Regions from separate parts of the Homo sapiens genome. Here all the other regions are linked to region 1. The links are contacts of gene promoters, found by promoter capture Hi-C in blood cells and fetal thymus (Javierre and others, 2016). All regions are on one chromosome and are shown on one strand. Each heading gives the region's core, a stretch centred on a gene start or on the middle of the fragment in contact. The rest is flanking DNA. Distances are from core to core; before and after follow the strand shown.

The links. The method cuts DNA at HindIII sites, captures the fragments that hold promoters and counts their contacts. A CHiCAGO score of 5 or more calls a contact.
Region 2: a contact is called between a fragment that was not itself captured here and the fragment with the promoter of NDE1 in region 1, in 2 of 17 cell types (erythroblasts and fetal thymus). The highest score is 5.6, in erythroblasts.
Region 3: a contact is called between a fragment that was not itself captured here and the fragment with the promoter of NDE1 in region 1, in 7 of 17 cell types (erythroblasts, fetal thymus, total CD8 T cells and 4 more). The highest score is 9.7, in erythroblasts.
Region 4: a fragment that was not itself captured here is called in contact with the fragment with the promoter of NDE1 in region 1 in 1 of 17 cell types (naive CD4 T cells); the score reaches 5.9 in naive CD4 T cells.

The regions. Positions count from the first base shown.
Region 1 is chr16:15,647,632-15,651,978 of GRCh38, forward strand. It overlaps NDE1 (nudE neurodevelopment protein 1), which reads left to right and starts at 2,614. Exons shown (of 9, transcript NM_017668.3): 1 at 2,614-2,663. RefSeq lists enhancers at 2,315-2,816, 2,817-3,316. The HindIII fragment of the contact is 10,572 bases long and covers 1-4,347 here.
Region 2 is chr16:16,138,931-16,143,277 of GRCh38, forward strand. It overlaps ABCC1 (ATP binding cassette subfamily C member 1 (ABCC1 blood group)), which reads left to right. Exons shown (of 31, transcript NM_004996.4): 31 at 2,243-4,123. The coding sequence ends at 2,351. Among named protein-coding and RNA genes, the nearest start is that of ABCC6, 82 kb to the right of the region's middle. The HindIII fragment of the contact is 2,114 bases long and covers 1,345-3,458 here.
Region 3 is chr16:16,118,170-16,122,516 of GRCh38, forward strand. ABCC1 (ATP binding cassette subfamily C member 1 (ABCC1 blood group)) reads left to right here. Exons shown (of 31, transcript NM_004996.4): 24 at 3,806-4,005. Among named protein-coding and RNA genes, the nearest start is that of ABCC6, 100 kb to the right of the region's middle. The HindIII fragment of the contact is 775 bases long and covers 2,236-3,010 here.
Region 4 is chr16:15,956,840-15,961,186 of GRCh38, forward strand. The region is part of intron 1 of ABCC1 (ATP binding cassette subfamily C member 1 (ABCC1 blood group)); the gene reads left to right. Among named protein-coding and RNA genes, the nearest start is that of ABCC1, 9.4 kb to the left of the region's middle. RefSeq lists enhancers at 1,346-1,846, 1,847-2,347. The HindIII fragment of the contact is 473 bases long and covers 1,846-2,318 here.

The DNA of each region.
Region 1 (4,347 bases), core at 1,364-3,863:
TTATAGATTTAGTATGTTTCTCTCTTAACAATATAAGCCCTTTGAGGACAGGTACTTTGTCTGACTGTATTCACTGTGCTGTAAGGGTGCATTGTACAGAAGAATGCTCATAATGCCGGGTGCTGTGGTTCATGCCTATAATCCCAGCACTTTGGGAGGGAGGCTGAGGCAGGAGGATCACTTGAGCCCAGGAGTTCAAGACCAGCCTGGGCAACATAGTGAGATCCACGTCTCTACAAAAAAATGTAAAAATTAGCTGGGCGTGTTGGTGCACACCTGTGGTCCTAGCTACTCCGGAGGATGAGGTGGGAGGATCACTTGAGCCTGGGAGGTCCAGGATGCAGTGAGCTTTGATTATGCCACTGCACTCCAGCCTATGTCACAGGGTGAGACTCTGTCTCACAAAAAAAAAAAAAAGCTGGATAATAATATATATATTTTTAGTTTTTATGGGTACACTGTAGGTGTTTATATTTATGGGGTACATGAGATATTTTGATAACAGGCATGCAATGCATCATAATCACATCAGGGTAAATGGGTGTCCATGACCTCAAGCATTTATCCTTTCTTTGTGTTACAAGCACTCCAATTATACTCCTTTAGTTATTTTAAAATGTACAATACATTGTTGTGGACTGTAGTCACCCTGCTGTGCTCCCAAATACTAGATCTTATTCATTCTAACTCTATTTTTGTACCCACTAACCAGAATGTTCGGTATTTGTTAATGAACATGTTATGACAGGATGTTTTAGAAGAAAATAAAGAAAAAAAGAAATTCCAGCCAAGCATGGTGGCTTGATTTTATTTATTTATTTATTTTGAGATGAAGTCTCCCTCTGTCTCCCAGGCTGGAATGCAGTGGCGTGATCTCCACTCACCGCAACCTCTGCCTTCTGAGTTACATGGCTCACGCCTGTAATCCCAGCACTTTGGGAGACTGAGGTGTATTGCTTGAGGTCAGGAGTTCGAGACCAGCCTGGCCAACACAGTGAAACCGTGTCTCTACTAAAAATACAAAAAATTAGCTGGGCGTAATGGTGGGCGCCTGTAATCCCAGCTACTAGGGAGACTAAGACAAGAAAATCGCTTGAATCTGGGAGGCAGAGGTTGCAGTGAGCCGAGATCGCACCATTGCACGCCAGCCTGGGCAACAAGAGGGAAACTCTGTCTCGAAAAGAAAAAAATTATTTTTTAATTTTAATTTGTTAGTGAACAATTAGGGTTGCTGTGAGAATTGTGCCTGGCACACACAGCCATTTAAAAATCACGATCTTCAGGCAGTGTGTGGTGGCTCACGCCTGTAATCCCAGGACTTTGGGAGGCCGAGGTGGGTGGATCACCTGAGGACAGGGATTCGAGAGCAGCCTGGCCAACATGGTGAAACCCCGTCTCTACTAAAAATATAAAAATTAGCCGGGTGTGGTGATGCGGGCCTGTGATCCCAGCTACTCGGGAGGCTGAAGCAGGAGAATTGCTTGAACTCAGAAGGCAGAGGTTGCAGTGAGTGGAGATCACGCCACTGCATTCCAGCCTGGGAGACAGAGGGAGATTTCATCTCAAAATAAATAAATAAACAAAATCAAGATCATTTAACAAATACATATATTGTACTTACTAAGTTCAAATTTCTGTTCTAAACGTTTTTACAAATGCTGTTAAGTCATTTAGTCCTCTGCATAATGTCGTTTGTTTGTTTGTCTGTTCTTTAAGACGGAGTCTTGCCCTGTCGCCTAGGCTAGAGTGCAGTGGTGTGATCTCGGCTCACTGCAACCGCCACCTCCCGGTTTCCCGTGATTCTCCTGCCTCAGCCTCCTGAGTAGCTGGGATTACAGGTGCGTGCCACCACATCCGGCTAATTTTTTGTATCTTTAGTAGAGACGGGGTTTCACCATGTGCCAGGCTGGTCTTGAACTCCTGACCTCGTGATCCACCCGCCTTGGCCTCCCAAAGTGCTGGGATTACAGGCGTGACCACCGCGCCAGACCCATAATGGCGTTTTATAGATGGGGAAACGGAGTCATAGAGGCTAAACAACTTTCCCAAGACCACACAGTTAGTAAGGGGCAGGACTAGGACTCAAAGCCAAGTTTATGACCAAATTCTGGTGCACTACGTTCTCCTGCTTCTGGAGAAGATAATGATGCTGAAGATTCTACTTTTGGTGTAAAGGAGTAGGAAGGGCACGGGGCACTGCTAGCTTCAGTGGGCCTGAATCTTTGTCTTTCCTTCTGATTTGGAGAAAGTGCAAGAATGGGAAAATGCAATCGAAGTGAAGGAGAGGCCGGCGTATTTTCCTGAAATGCGCGGCCCGCAAGCCCAAACCCGTTTCCCGGGTGTCCAGGCAGCGTTCTGCAGCATCTCCAATGCCCGCCAGCCCGCCGCAGCCCAGCGCCCGGCAGCCGGCGCCTCTCAAACCCCCTCCGGCCAGGAGCCTTCGCCGCTTGGCCGCGCCGCGCCCGGCCTGGGAAAAAAGTTTCCAAACGACGCTGCTCTGCGCTGATTGGCCGAGGCGGACGCGGTACCGTAGAGCAGCAGCCAATGGGAGGCGCCGACCGCAGGCTCCGGGGCGGGGGCGGGGTCCGGAGGGCCGGGGCCGCACCGCCCTTCGCAGCCGCCTCTGCCGCCGCCGCCGCGTTGGCCTCGCCGCCCCTGCTCGGGTAAGTGAGGCGCTGCGCGGGGCTGGGGTCGGGGTGGCTGTCCGGGGACCTCCACCGCGGCTGAAAAGCTCCTCTGCCCCGCCCCAGGATCCCGGGACCCCGGGCCACCGCCTGGCAGGGACCCCTACGCCCCTCGCTTGCGCGTCGCTTCCCGGCCGCCTGGACTCCCCCGGTCCCTGGGCTCCAAAATCCCGCCTCCCTGGAGCCTCCCGTCCTAAAAAGTTAGGCACTGAGTGCCTTGCCACCGGTGCGTTCCTCGCGCTGGCCCCTCGCCCTTGGCAACTTTGTTTCTCTTTCTGCGTTGGTCTCTCTCCCACCCCGTTGCCCTCTTCTCCTTCCGGGACTTCCTGGGTGGTTAAGCCTTGCCGGTCCCCAAACCCCGCTGCCAGGCTCCATCCTCTTTCTCCTCTTCCTTCCTCCCCATACTCCTCTCCTAGATGACCCTCGTTTCTTTTCTCTCTCTCTCCTATTCCTCCATCCTGCCACCCGCTTCTCTGCGACCCCAGACCCCTCGATTGCAGCGTTGCCCCTGCCCTCACACCCACTGTCCCGCCCCTGCAGGCCTCTTTCCAAAAACCCACCCTGCTCCCTCCCTCCGGGAACACGTTTGGGGCAGTCTGCTCTCCGCTTTGCTCCCGTCTCTGCCGCAGGACGGTTCAGGTTTCTTCTGACAGCACTTTGGGGAGGGATTGGGTAAAGGACGAAAATGCTTATTCCGCAGCTTGAGTGATGGCTGGGCTCACTGAGGACCTGAGTCTCTGAGGTCCTGGGAAACCCCGCTGTCACCTTGACACCGCTTTTGGGGAGGCGACTTTATCTTCTCCGAGCCATCTCAGGCTTTCTGCCTCCTGAGGGCCTGAGCTTCCTTGATTGCTTTGTCCGTGGTTACTACCAGGTTGTGCCTCTTAATTTCTACTTTGAGCCTCAGGCCCCTTTTAACTTTCTAAAGAAAAGGCCTTTGCAGCACGACCTAGGCAGGTTCATCATTTTTAGTTTTGTTATAGTGTATTCTAGCATAGGATGGCATTTTAGGACATGGGTCGGGTGTTTTGAAGATTAATTAGATCCCAGCTACTCCTAAAGCCTCTTGTTACCCGACCACCCCAGCCTCCATCACCTCGTTGGTATACAACCCGTTTTTTTTTTTTTTTTTTTGTTTTTGTTTTTGAGACAGAGTCTCACTCTCGCCCAGGTTGGAGTGCAGTGGTGCGATTTTGGCTCACTGCAACCTCCGCTTCCCGGGTTCAAGCGATTCTCCTGCCTCAGCCTCCGGAGTAGCTGGGACTACAGGTGCGTGCCACCACGCCTGGCTAATTTTTTGTATTTTTAGTAGAGATGGGGTTTCACCGTGTTAGCCAGGATGGTCTCGATTTCCTGACCTCGTGATCTGCCCCCTCGGCCTCCCAAAGTGCTGGGATTACAGGCGTGAGCCACCGTGCCGGCCTACAACCCATTTTGAGCCTTTCCTCTTAGTGTGTGTTTTGTGTAGGATTAAATGCAGATGATCTGTGCCGCTGAAGTCTCAGGGGCCTGTGATTCATATATTTTATCCCATGTTGGATAACAGTTTATTAACTTGACTTATTTTTGTTTCCAAAGTGTGTTATTTATTATTTATTTATTTATTTATTTTGAGACGGAGTCTTGTTCTTGTCCAGGCTGGAGTGCAGTGGCATGATCTCGA
Region 2 (4,347 bases), core at 1,152-3,651, 490 kb after region 1:
AACTCCTGACCTCAGGCGATCTGCCCGCCTCCGCCTCCCAAATTGCTGGGATTACAGGCATGAACCGCTGTGCCCAGTGGTACCAGGTATTTCTAATATCATCTAGTCATTCATTCACGTCAGCGCACCTGCGGTGTTCCCAGACACTGGGGACTCTGTAGGCTGCTGTCAGACAAAGTCCCTGCCTCCAGGACCAAGTAGCTTATTAGATGGAGGAGACAAAAAATATACAGAGCAATAAACCAACAGGATTCCAGAGGGCAGCAGGTGCTGGGAAGGACGCTTGCCAAGGAGACGGGATAGCGAGTGCTGGGCAGGGCCACTGTTTCCATTGAACACTGCAGGCCCAGTGCGTGGGGCCCACAAAAAGGTTTTATTTTTTTTAAAAAATCAGAAGCAGGCCAGGTGCGGTGGCTCACGGCTGTAATCCCAGCACTTTGGGAGGCCGAGGCAGGCAGATCACCTGAGGTCGATAGTTTGAGACCAGCTTGGCCAACACGGTGAGACCCTGTCACCATTAAAAATACAAAAAGTAGCCAAGTGTGGTGGTGCGTGCCCATAATCCCAGGTACTTGGGAGGCTGAGGAAGGAGAATTGCTTGAACCTGGGAGGTGGAGGTTGCAGTGAGCTGAGATTGTGCCACTGCAGTCCAGCCTGGGCAACAGAGTGAGACTCCATCTCAAAAAAAAAAAAAAAAAAAAAAAGAATATAATCCAACCTGGATTTTATTTATACTAACACAGTCATAAAATAGAATTTCTAGCATTTTGTGTGGAGAAAGCCACCTCCGTAGGCATCAGTGCCGGGGACCACAAAAGTCAGAATGCTGCCATAGTGCCAGGGTCCTGGGGGGTTTTGAGTTTTGTGTGGGTCATCTCTGAAGAGGTGACATTTTAGCTGAGACCTGAACAATGAAAAGGAGTCAGCCTTGAGAAGATCTGGGACAGCGATCTGCAACCTTGTTCTTAAGGGCCGGGGTAGTTTCAGCTTTGTGGGCCACATGGCCTCTCAGCCACTTGACTCCAGTGTTGCCGTGTGAAAGCAGTCATAGATAGTGCACGAATGAATGAGCATGGCTATGTTCCAATAAAACTTTATTCATAAAAACAGGCAAGGGGTCAGATTTGGCCTGCAGGCCACAGTTTGCCAACCTTGGATCTAAAGGAAGAACATTCTAGGCAGCCGGTACAGCCGAATGTAAAAATGAATGCGCTTAATGAATTTGAAGGCTAGCATGAGGAGGCCATGTACCTAGAGGTTGGAATTGAGTGGACAGGGGCAGGAGATTAGGCCAGAAAGGTAGGCAGGGGCTGGATCTTAGAGCACCATGTAACCACGGTGAGAAGCTTGGAACTTACTCTAAGAGCCCTATAAAGCCATTGGAAGGTTTTAAGCAGGGAAGTGACATGAGTTTCTATTTTATTTTATATATTTTTGAGACAGGGTCTCACCCTGTCGCCCAGGCTGGAGTGCAGTGGTGGGATCACAGCTCACTGCGGCCTCAAGTGATCCTCCTGCCTCAGCCTTCCAAAGTGCTGGGATTATAGGCGTGAGTCTCTGCACCCAGCTGACATGATGTTTCTAGTTCACTGAGTACCACCTACTAAGTGGCAGATGCTGAGTTGGTGCTTTTGAAATATAGGACATAGAAATGAGGACAGAAGTGGGCAGTGTCAAATCTTACAGGACCTAAAATATTAGGGGTCAGCCAACTATGGCCCACAGGCCACAGATCTGGCCCCCTGCGTGTTTTTATGAATAAAGTTTTATTGGCACGCAGCCACATCTGTTCATTTTCCTGTTGTCTCTGGCAGCTTTCACACTATAAATACAGCAGAGATGCGTAGTTGTAACAGAAAGCATATGGCCTGCAGAGCCTCAAGTATTTACTATCTGGCCTTTTTCAGAAAAATGTTGCCAATCGTTATTGTAGACTGTGGTAAGATCTTTTTATTTTACTCTGAATGTAATGGAACAGTGAATGTGAACAGTCAACACTGTTAATACCATTCACACCATGATTGATGTGGGGTAGATATTAAGGAGCTGGCCTCATGGGAATCTGACATTGACTAGAAATAGGGATTGAGGGTGAGCAACCAGCTGGAAGGTACTGCACCAGTCCTAGCAAAAAGTGTTAGGGGCCTGACCCGAAGCAGTGACTTGCCCAGGTCAGTTGTCCCAGGGGCACGAGGTGCTCACCCCTCCCCTTCCCCTCATGTCTGTATCCCCTCTCCCTCAGGGTGATCGTCTTGGACAAAGGAGAAATCCAGGAGTACGGCGCCCCATCGGACCTCCTGCAGCAGAGAGGTCTTTTCTACAGCATGGCCAAAGACGCCGGCTTGGTGTGAGCCCCAGAGCTGGCATATCTGGTCAGAACTGCAGGGCCTATATGCCAGCGCCCAGGGAGGAGTCAGTACCCCTGGTAAACCAAGCCTCCCACACTGAAACCAAAACATAAAAACCAAACCCAGACAACCAAAACATATTCAAAGCAGCAGCCACCGCCATCCGGTCCCCTGCCTGGAACTGGCTGTGAAGACCCAGGAGAGACAGAGATGCGAACCACCCAAAACACGCACACCCTGCCCCTGGTGCCCTGAGACAGACACACAGCCTCACGCCCCCAGGAATGCAAGTGGTTTCCTGGTGCTTCCCACGGAGGAGTTTTGGCAGCCAGACTTCTGGAGGAATTGGTTGTATAGAAGATCCTAGTGACCAAATTCAGCCTACTGCCTCGGATCTCTCCAGCCGAAGTCTGTGGACTGCAAGTCTTTGAGATGCTTCTGGCTCCCATCACCTCTAACATCCTTGTCTGGGTCTACCAGGAACGCTTCATTTCCTTGGGGCTGCAGTTTTGTGGTTGAGGGGCCTGGAGAAAATCATTTTCTCCCCTTGGCAGTGTCCCAGGGCCCTGGATGGTCCTCTTACCAACATCTGGTCTTCCAGGCACTCAAAAGCTGGGAACCAGCATCTCAGCGCCAGCTCTACCAGTTCTCGTTTTGGGCCAGAGGCAGCCTCTGCACTCCCACGCCTGTCCTCCTGGAAGGGACCTGGTTGGACTAACGGCTAACCTGGACCTGGAACTGTAGGGCCAGGGGATTGTCTCAGGGCCGACGTTCCACCTGGGGCTTCCCTCCCCACCCACCCCGACTCCAGGCTTTCCCTTTTTTCTTTTGTTCAACATTGTAAGAACAATCAATGCTGTTATTACTGTTCCCACCATGATTGATGTGGGGTAAATATTAAGGAGATGGCCTCATGGGAATTTGACCTTGACTAGAAATAGAGACTGAGAGTGAGCAACCAGCTGGAAGGTACTATGCCAGTCCTAGCAGAAAAATGTGTTAGGGGCCTGGCCCAAAGCAGTGTTGGTTGCTTACAGTGTTGATTGATTTTGTTCTTTTTTCTTACCACCTCTTTTCTTTCCCTCTCATGGTACCTGCTCATGGTTATGAAGCTTTCAAAGTAAAGAACACGAAATACCTCCCAAGTATTACCAGTGGGTACCAAAAAAATGTCCCCTTGAGTCTTTTCCTTGTTTTTAGATGTTAATTCTCTCCCTTGGCATCCGGTTAGCCCCCCAGGGGGGGCAGCATTGTGGAGAACTTGATATTTAGTTACTGATGCTCTTCCAGGACACGAAAAGAACCCATCTTTGAATATCAATGATTTTTTTTTTTTAAGTACTGTTCCGGGGAGAAAAACAGTCTCAAAACTTGAACTTCTTGGGAATAGAAGTGTTGGGCTGAGAAGTAACATTCCCAGGAAATAGTGAGAAGCTCGCCCTGTGTTTGAAACCGTGTTGGTCTCTGTGTTCCTGGAAGAAAACAGGGAAGCAGCATCTTTTAAAGCCTGTTCTTTAAGGTGTCTCGTTAGAGCCCAAAGTGGAATCCGGAAGGCAGCCAGAGCTGAGGCTGCCCCAAGACTCAGACTTGCTAAGAATTACGCCGCCGACTTCAAACCCAGAGAGCATCTTTCTTTTAGGCGAAAACGCATATATTTATTTTTTGTAAGTTATACCATTCTTTCACATTAGATAAACTAAGTTTTGGGGGATCCTTTTGTAATGACTTACACTGGAAATGCGAACATTTGCAGTAAAAAAATATATATATATCTATATATTTTATTTCTTTCTAAAGAATGGTTCCCTTTCCTTTGGGGCCTCGGCGAGGGTTCCAGCCATGTCCTCTGCAGGGTCAGGATGTGGCATCTTCCTGTTTCTGTTCTTTCCTTTTGACAACAAGTCGCCTCTAGTGGGAGCTGTTGCCAGAAAGGGCAAGTTGTAGAGATCACTAGTCAGATGGGGTTTAGTGGGAAGGCGGGACAGCCGCAAGGTGGACG
Region 3 (4,347 bases), core at 1,373-3,872, 470 kb after region 1:
TAGGGATGGGTTGTTTAGATGGGAGCATTCCAGCTGCAAAGCAAAACAAGAGTAAGAAACCATGAGGCTCACCATATCTCAAACCACGCTGCACAGCTGTTCAGGTGGCATCCAGGGGGCCTTGGTTCAATCATGTGGCCCCTGCGCCCCACCACACTGTGGCCCAATGATTGATGAGAACGAACAGTGATGGAATCAGAGAGAGTAGGTCCAGTTCCTGGAGTCTCGTTATATCCTCTTGAAATTGGTGCCAGCTTTTTTTTTTTTTTTTTTTTCCCCTGCATTTACCAAATATGTTATCTGTGTTCATACGCAAGCTGGAAAATTTCCTGAAAGACCCAAAAAGAACAAAACAGGCCAAATGCAGTGTTGAAGGCAACTTAAATGTCTGCCAATAGCAGGACCTTGGGTACACCGTGGAGCAATGTGGCTTTGAGCAGGGATAATTAGAAGACGCAGCTGTTGGAGCACCAAGGATTTTTATTTTTCAACAACAAAGGAAATGATTTTAGCAAAGGACCAAGTTCTAGGTGCACTGTCGTTATCACCGAGATGAAATGCATAATGTGTGTGGGCAGGACTGGAAGGGAGGCAGATACATGAAAACATCGTCTTTTTAAGGGTTGAGATTATAGAATAGTTAATTTTTTAATGGCTTTTGGCTAAATTTACATTTATCCTCTCACTAGGCAGTCTCATTCCTAAGTGTATATTAAAAAAAAAAAAAAAAAAAAAAGAGCAAAGGCAGTGCTTAGAATGTTCTCAGCATCTTGATTCATAATCGCCCAAACTGGAAACAGCTCAAATGTCCATTAACAGGACCGTGGAGAAATAAATTGTGATATAATTATACAATTTATGGTTGAGTAGTAAAAAGGAATGAAATGCTAATACACAACAATTTGGGTTTATCTCAGAGATGTTATAGTGATCAAAAGAAGCCAGACGAAAAAGAGTAGGTACTGTGAGATTTCATTTATATGAAGTTCGGTCGGGTGCAGTGGCTCATGCCTTTAATCCCAGCCCTTTGGGAGGCCTAGACAGGAGGATTGCTTGGGCCCAGGAGTTCGAGACCAGCCTGAGCAACATGGGAAAACCTGGTCTCTACAGAAAATACAAAAATTAGCTGGGTGTGGTGGCGTGAACCTGTAGTCCCACCTGCTTGGGAGGCTGAGATGGAAGGGTCACTTGAGCCTCGGAGGCGGAGGTTGCAGTGAGCTGACATTGTGCCAGTGCACTTCAGCCTTGGTGACAGGGCGAGTTGTCTGAAAAAAACATCAGATCGGCAGGGCAGGTGGATCACCTGAGGTCAGGAGTTTGAGACCAGCCTGGCCAACATGGTGAAACCCCATCTCTACTAAAAATAGAAAAATTAGCCAGGCACGGTGGTGGGCGCCTGCAATTCCAGCTACTTAGGAGGCTAAGGCAGGAGAATTGCTTGAACCTGGGAGGCAGAGGTTGCAATGAGCCAAGATTGTGCCACTGCACTCCAGCCAGGGTGACAGAGCGAGACTGTCTTAAAAAATAAAATAAGATCATTCCTGAACAAATATTCATCTCAGGTTAGATTTTTCCAGTAAGTAAGGTTCAGAGGCAGTGGCAAGTGGAGGAAAGTGAACAGGTAACACACTTGAGAGCGATTTGCATCTGGATTGTTCAGAAAGCAAGCTGGTAAGAGAGGAAGGAGATGTGGTCCAGGGTAAGATGGGGCAGATCACCTGGGCCTTCAGCCATGCAGAGGGGTCTGGATTTCATGGGAGGCGGTGGGAACAGCTGGAGAAGAAATTATATCTGATCCACATTCCAGGAATTGGCAGAACAGCTATTCTGAGACTGCGTGGGGTTGTGCGGTACCTGGGTTCACTTACATAGCTTCTGGGGCCCCAGAAGACTCTCCATCTGTGGGTTGCAATTAACGCCCGTGCCGCCACCCAGGAAGAAGCTGCCAACCACAGAGGCCTTGTAAAAGCCACCTGCTGCTATTGATGCTTTTTGTTGGACTCTGCCCCAAAGCAGCCCAGTACACCTGGCCCAGGGCAGGATGCAGGGAGGCCGAGTTCCTAGCAACCCTTTGTTAGTTTTCCCAGCTCTCCTGTCGATAAGCAATTGTAGGCACCTTGTGGAATCAGGAACCCCGGGCTCACCAGTTCCTTTTGCGTAGATGAGAAAAACCTAGGCTAGGAGAGCGCAGTGTCCTCACATGGCTGGTGCAGCCTCTGATCCACAGCTCCACAAAGCTTGCAGAAGGTGGTTGGCTTTTGTTCTGAATCTAACAAGACTTATCGGGAGGCTCTTGGTGCCTGGCACTGGCTGAATGCCCAGGTTGGGGGAGGCAGAGCAGATGAAGCATCTGCCCGCGAGGGTGGGTGGAGCTGCTTGTGAAACGTATCATCGTAGCCCGGGAGCTGGGACACTGAAGCCCGGAGAAGGTGCTCATGGAGGATGGGAAGGGCTTCCCGAGGAAGTGACATCTGTGCTCCCATCTGCTGGGTGATGAGGAATGGCCTGGACGGGATGGGCATGGTGGGTGGAGGCAGGCGGCCTGTGTGCAGGGAAGGAAGGGGAGAGTTACAGGATGAGATGAGTTGAGGGAAGAAGCATGGTTGGCAACTCTAACAGCGCTGGGAGGCCATCGGAGGGGGGTGACGAGATTGACCCTATCCTCATGGGCATCTCAGCTGGGCTGAGTGTGCTGGAACCGGCCATTGCATGGACACAGTCACTCCTGAGGGGATGTGATCAACAGGCGGAATTCTGTCACTTAATGATAACAATAGTCACCAGCTAACTGAATGCTTACTGTTAGGTCAAACTATATGAAACTGCTAATACTTATTTCTTATCTACAGAAACAGCTATTTCCTGTGGTTCAACCTAGTATTACCAGGCACTGTGCTTAGTGACATCATGCATATCTATATGATTTATGAAATAATGTGTCCACGCAAATACACATCACATGTAAGACTGTAACTCTTACATGTCACCCTCACAATGACCCCGTGAAGCAAGCTTTGTTTTGTTTCGTTTGTTTTCTTAATAATATTTTATTTTTGTAGAGATGGCATTTTGCCATGTGCCTGGGCTGGTCTCAGACTCCTGGCCTCAAGTGATCTCCCGCCTCTGCCTCCTGAAGTGCGGGTATTACAAGCATGAGCCACCCCACCTGGCCGAGCAAGCCTTGTTGTTCCCATTTTACAGATAAGGAAACTGAGGCTTAGAGAAGTAAAGTGTTAGTCGTGTTTATATTGCCAGTCAGTAGTTGAGTCAGGATTTGAACTGAGGTCTCGTTGACCTCAAAGCCTATGCTGAAAACCACACTGCTGGTTCCAGAAAACCCTAGAGGTGAAAGGCTTCAGAGAGGCAGTACAGGGTAGAGGTTAGCACTTTGCAGCCCAGATGGCCTGGGTTTGAATCCCAGTTCTGCCCCTTGCTAGCCATGTGACCTTGGGGAGGAGATTAACTAGCTTCTTTGTGCCTTAGTCTACCCATCACATATAGGAATGAGCACCTCAGGTTTTTTGTGAGGATTGAATGAACTGATGTTTGTAAAACTGCTTAGAACGATGCCTGGGGCTGTGGGCTTTGTATAAGCGTGAGCTATTATTGTCACTGTCCTTGTCATTGGTGGTGCTATTCCTGTGGTTCACCAGGTGAGTGGGCACCCCTGTGAGGGCAGCCCGGCTCTAACATTTTGCCTCCTGGAGGTATCGGTTACGTCTAGATGTTCTCCAGCACAGCCCTGCCCTGGGAGGATGGCAGGAGGGAACCTTCATCAACTCCCCGCGTCTGTTCTCTACCCCAGAGGTTCTACGTGGCTTCCTCCCGGCAGCTGAAGCGCCTCGAGTCGGTCAGCCGCTCCCCGGTCTATTCCCATTTCAACGAGACCTTGCTGGGGGTCAGCGTCATTCGAGCCTTCGAGGAGCAGGAGCGCTTCATCCACCAGAGTGACCTGAAGGTGGACGAGAACCAGAAGGCCTATTACCCCAGCATCGTGGCCAACAGGTGGGCATGGTGGGCCTGCAGGAGCGGGTGGAGGAGGCCGCCTTAGCACCTTGTCTCTTTGCCTCGATCTTTTCCTCGCACCTTGAGCTGGGTATAAAGCCAAACCCCGGCCTTGCAGAAAGGATGGAGAGGCTTGATGAGCGCGGAGGACAGATGAATCATTAAGAGCAGACAGCGGCACTGTAGACATGCAGTGCCCGCGGCATTTAAGTGCAGGGACACAGCTCTTCTGGAGTCAGAAAGCCCTGCAAGTGCTTCCCGTTAACTGTCATCCTAGTGATGCAAGACTGCCAGCGACCGACTCTGCTATTGAGTATCTTCATACCGCTGTTCCCGTCTGGG
Region 4 (4,347 bases), core at 832-3,331, 310 kb after region 1:
CTCAGGGATGGCAGAGGCAGAAGCATAATCTGAGTATAAGTGGACCCGTGCAGTTTAAATGTGTGTTGTTCAAGGGTCAGCTGTTTGTTGAATAAATGAATGACATGAAGTATTACAGTGGCTTTTGGGCGGTGTCGAAACTTCTTTGTAAGGATTTTAAGGATGAAATAATCACTTAACTGTCTGGAATGAACACTCAGATAAACTGAGTCCTCCAGCTTTCTCATCAGATGGCTTGTTTTTTTATTTTATTTTTTTGAGACAGGGTCTTGCTCTGTCACCCAGGCTGGAGTGCAGTGGCGCGACCTCAGCTCACTGCAGCCTCAACCTCCTGAGCTCAAGCAATTCTCCCACTTCAGCTCCCCAGGTAGCTGGGACTACAGGCACACACCACCATGCCCAGCTAATTTTTTTTTTTTTTTTTTTTGTAGAGATAGGGTTTTGCCATGTTGCTCAGGTTGGTGGTGAACTCCTGAACTCAGGCGATCTGCCTGCCTTGGCCTCCCAAAGTGCTGGGATTATAGGTGTGAGCCACCGTGCTTGGCAGAACAGCTTCTATTTCATCTTGGAAAGGTCAGAACAGGGTTTTGTCCACCCCTCTTTTCCCAGGACTCAGTGTCTCACACACAGTGGGGGCTCAATCAACATTAGAATTTGAGTGTTTGAGGTATGAGTTCCAAGCTAGGGGTTAGATATAGCTCACCACTGTGCTGGTTTGGCTTGATTTTAATTATAGGAATGACTGTGATTTCCAATTTTATTTATTTATTTATTTGAGACGGAGTCTTGCTCTGTTGCCAGGCTGGAGTGCAGTGGCACGATCTTGGCTCACTGCAACCTCTGCCTCCTGGGTTCAAGCAATTCTGCCTCAGCCTCCCCAGTAGCTGGGACTACAGGGGCACGCCACCACATCCAGCTAATTTTTGTGTTTTTGATAGAAACGGGGTTTCCAGTATGTTGGCCAGCATGGCCTCGATCTCTTGACCTCGTGATCCGCCCGCCTCGGCCTCCTAAAGTGCTGGGATTACAGGCATGAGCCACTGTGGCCCGCCCTACAATGTTTATTCATTGGCAGATTTCACAGAAACATCTGGATTTCTGGCTTCCCTTGAAAAATCAGAAGTTCTGCTAGCCCCAGGCCCACATTTATACATGGTAGCGGTCCGCTGAGGCTGTCCGTTTCTGAGTTGCTCCAGTTTGCCGCAGTCCCCACCCCTCCCTGTTGTTGCTTTAATTTTAAGGCCAAATGTTTGTTGCCTTTGTTTTATTTTATATTATTTTTTTGAGACGAAGTCTCGCTCTGTCACCCAGGCTGGAGTGCAGTAGTGGAATCTCGGCTCACTGCAACCTCTGCCTCCCGGGTTCCAGTGATTCTGCTGCCTCAGCTTCCCGAGTAGCTGGGATTACAGGCCCGCACCACCACACTCGGCTTATTTTTGTATTTTTAGTAGAGATGGGGTTTCTCCATATTGGCCAGGCTGGTCTTGAATTCCTGAACTCAAGTGGATCACTTGAGTTCCTCAGCCTCCCAAAGTGCTGGGATTACAGGCATGAGCCACCGTGCCTGGCCTGTTGCCTTTTTAAAATTGTGCTTCCTCACACCTGGTCTGCTTCTTGCATGGATGGAACCCACTTTGGCACCTGTTGGTATCTGAGTTGGCATCTCCTGCTTTGCAGGCCAACCTTGAAGTTAGCATCTGATTGGTATGTTGGCTTCAGATTTTCATGGCGAAGTAAGGCCTAGCTTTGATGATCAGCTCTTAGTGTGGTCAGTACAACTCTAGCTCGTGAAAACTTGCCCAAACATTTTGCCAAAATTAATTAATGGCCAGACATCCTGAGGCAAGCTTCCCCCCGCTTAGCAAGAAAACTGGGATAGGGCAGCATCCCTGTGGGTGGAGTGGTGCTGGGGACCTGCACTTACCTCTTAGAGGCTGAATGGTTGAACGGGGCCTTTGAGGAAGCTGTATTTTGCGGGTGGGGACATGGAGCACAGTTGCTCAGTGTCGGCCCCGTTGACATGTAGGCCACATCATTCTTTGTGGCCTGGTTGCTGTTCTGTGCAGCGTAGTCTTAGCCCCAAACCTGGCCTCTACCCCCTAGTAGATGCTGGTAGCACCTCCTCTTGTTGTGACAACCGAAAATGCCTCTAGATGTTTCCATATGTTCCCTGGGGTGTGAAATCACACAGCCACTGGTGTGGAGGAATATGGGGGAGAAACATGGAGCAAGACCTTCCTCCTCATCCTGCATTTCCCTAGGAGGTTGTGGGCTGTCGAAATTCTAGTGTAATTGGCTTACTGGGGTTGCCTTGGAGAAGCTTAATGAGACGTTAAGGAGGTTAAACTCCAATTAGCTAGAGAAGAAACTTGCGGCAGTTTCTTTTTTACTGAGGGCTGTGTCTTTTTACCTTTTTCCATTTTCCCAGTTGGAGTTGTGACAGTTCATTCTCCCCTGGGAAAACAAAAATGGCTTTCTTTTTCTTTTTCTTTCTTTTTTCTTTTGAGACAGGGTCTCCCTCTGTCACCCAGGCTGGAGTGCAGTGGCACAATCATAGCTCACTGCAGCCTCGACCTCCTGGGCTGAAGCTATCTTCCCACCTTAGCCTCCCAGGTAGCTGGGACCAGAGGTGCACACCACCATACCCGGCTAATTTTTGTATTTTTTGTAGAGTCAGGGTCTCACCATGTTGCCCAGGCTTGTCTCAAACTCCTGGGCTCAAGCGATCCTCCTGCCTCGGCCTCCCAAAGTGCTGGGATTACAGGCGTGAGCCACCATGCCCAGCCGAAAATGGCTTTCTTGAGAGATCAGCTTTGAAGCTCTACTCCTTCATTTTAAAGTGCCCCAGGAGAAGTGGACGATTACAAAGTTGAGATTCCACTTAAGTGTCCCCTTAGTTTAACTGTGGGATTCATCTCCTGGGGAGGTTGCCAGGTTCTGGAAAGTGGGTGTTAATGACCAGGGAGGGTGCCCCTAGGCTAGCATCCTGTAACCCTCAGGAATTGAGATTTTTATGGAGGTTTTCTCTTCCTCTCTGTGAGTTTTCTCTCTGAGAAACCTGTCTAGGGAGGGAGGCTCTAGGCTAGCATCCTGTAACCCTCAAGTAGTAATTGAGATTTTTATGGAGCTTTTATCTTCCTCTCTGTGAGTTTTCTCTCTGAGGAACCTCAGTGTACCTTTTACTGGCCTCCTAGGTAATACTTGTTTGGAGAATATGTGTGATGTCTAAGTCTTCCCAGTACAAGAAATTTGTGTGGTGTTTGACTGATTGATGGATGGAGTCTTGTTCTGTCGCCCTAGCTGATTGTACCACTGCACTGCAGTCTCGACCTCCCAGGCCAAGTGACCCTCCCAACTCACCCTCCCAAGTAGCTGGGACTACAGGCATGCACCAGCACACCCGGCTAATTTTTGTATTTTTTTTTGTAGAGATGGGGTTTCACTATGTTGCCCAGTTTGGTCTTGAACTCTTGAGCTCAAGCAGTCTCCCAGAGTGCTGGGATTACAGGTGTGAGCCACCACGCCCAGCCTCGTGTGGTCTTTGATACCCCTGGGTTCATTGTATTGTTCTTCCCACACTGCTTTTCATTCATTCATTTATTCAGTCATTATTAATTGAGCAGCTACTATGTGCTGCTGCTGCTCTAGGCACTGAGGATACAACAGTGAACAGGACAGACCAGGCCCATGTTCTCATGGGGTTTACACTGAGGGTGACGGAAATGATTTCAGATGCTGGCAAGTGCTGCAAAGACTTGAACCGGGAAAAACTGGGTGAGGTGCAAACTACTACGGAGGGATGTCCACAGAAGGCCTTTCGGAGGCGGTGAGGTTTGACCCCAGAGCTCAGTGGCAAAGCTGGCCATGCAAGGATGTGGGGGAAGGGAGTCCCAGAGTGGGAAGAGAATGTGCATAGGCCTTGAGGAAGATCATGGTGTGGTTAAAGTATTGAGGAGTTTAACTCAAAGGAACTGCAGAGCCCATCTCATAAAAATCTAGCCTGGAGCATTCGGCAAAATGCATAAAGCACTAACACAATGGCTTGTGGTCCTGGAATTTCCAGGGAAGGCGCTTACCAGCTCAGCAAGGAAGTAGAACAATGCATGGTCCCTGGCAGAAGCAAGAACCTTCTGATCTGTTTATGTTTGAATGAAACGCAGGTTTTTTTTTTTTTTTTTTTTTTTTAAAATAGATGGGGGTCTTGCTATGCTGCTCAGGCTGGTCTCGAACTCCTGGGCTCAAGCAATCCACCCACCTTGGCCCTTCCATGTGCTGGGATTACAGGCATGAGGCACTACGCCCTGCTGAATCTCAGGTCTTAAAAATTCAGTTTATTTTGTTTTATGA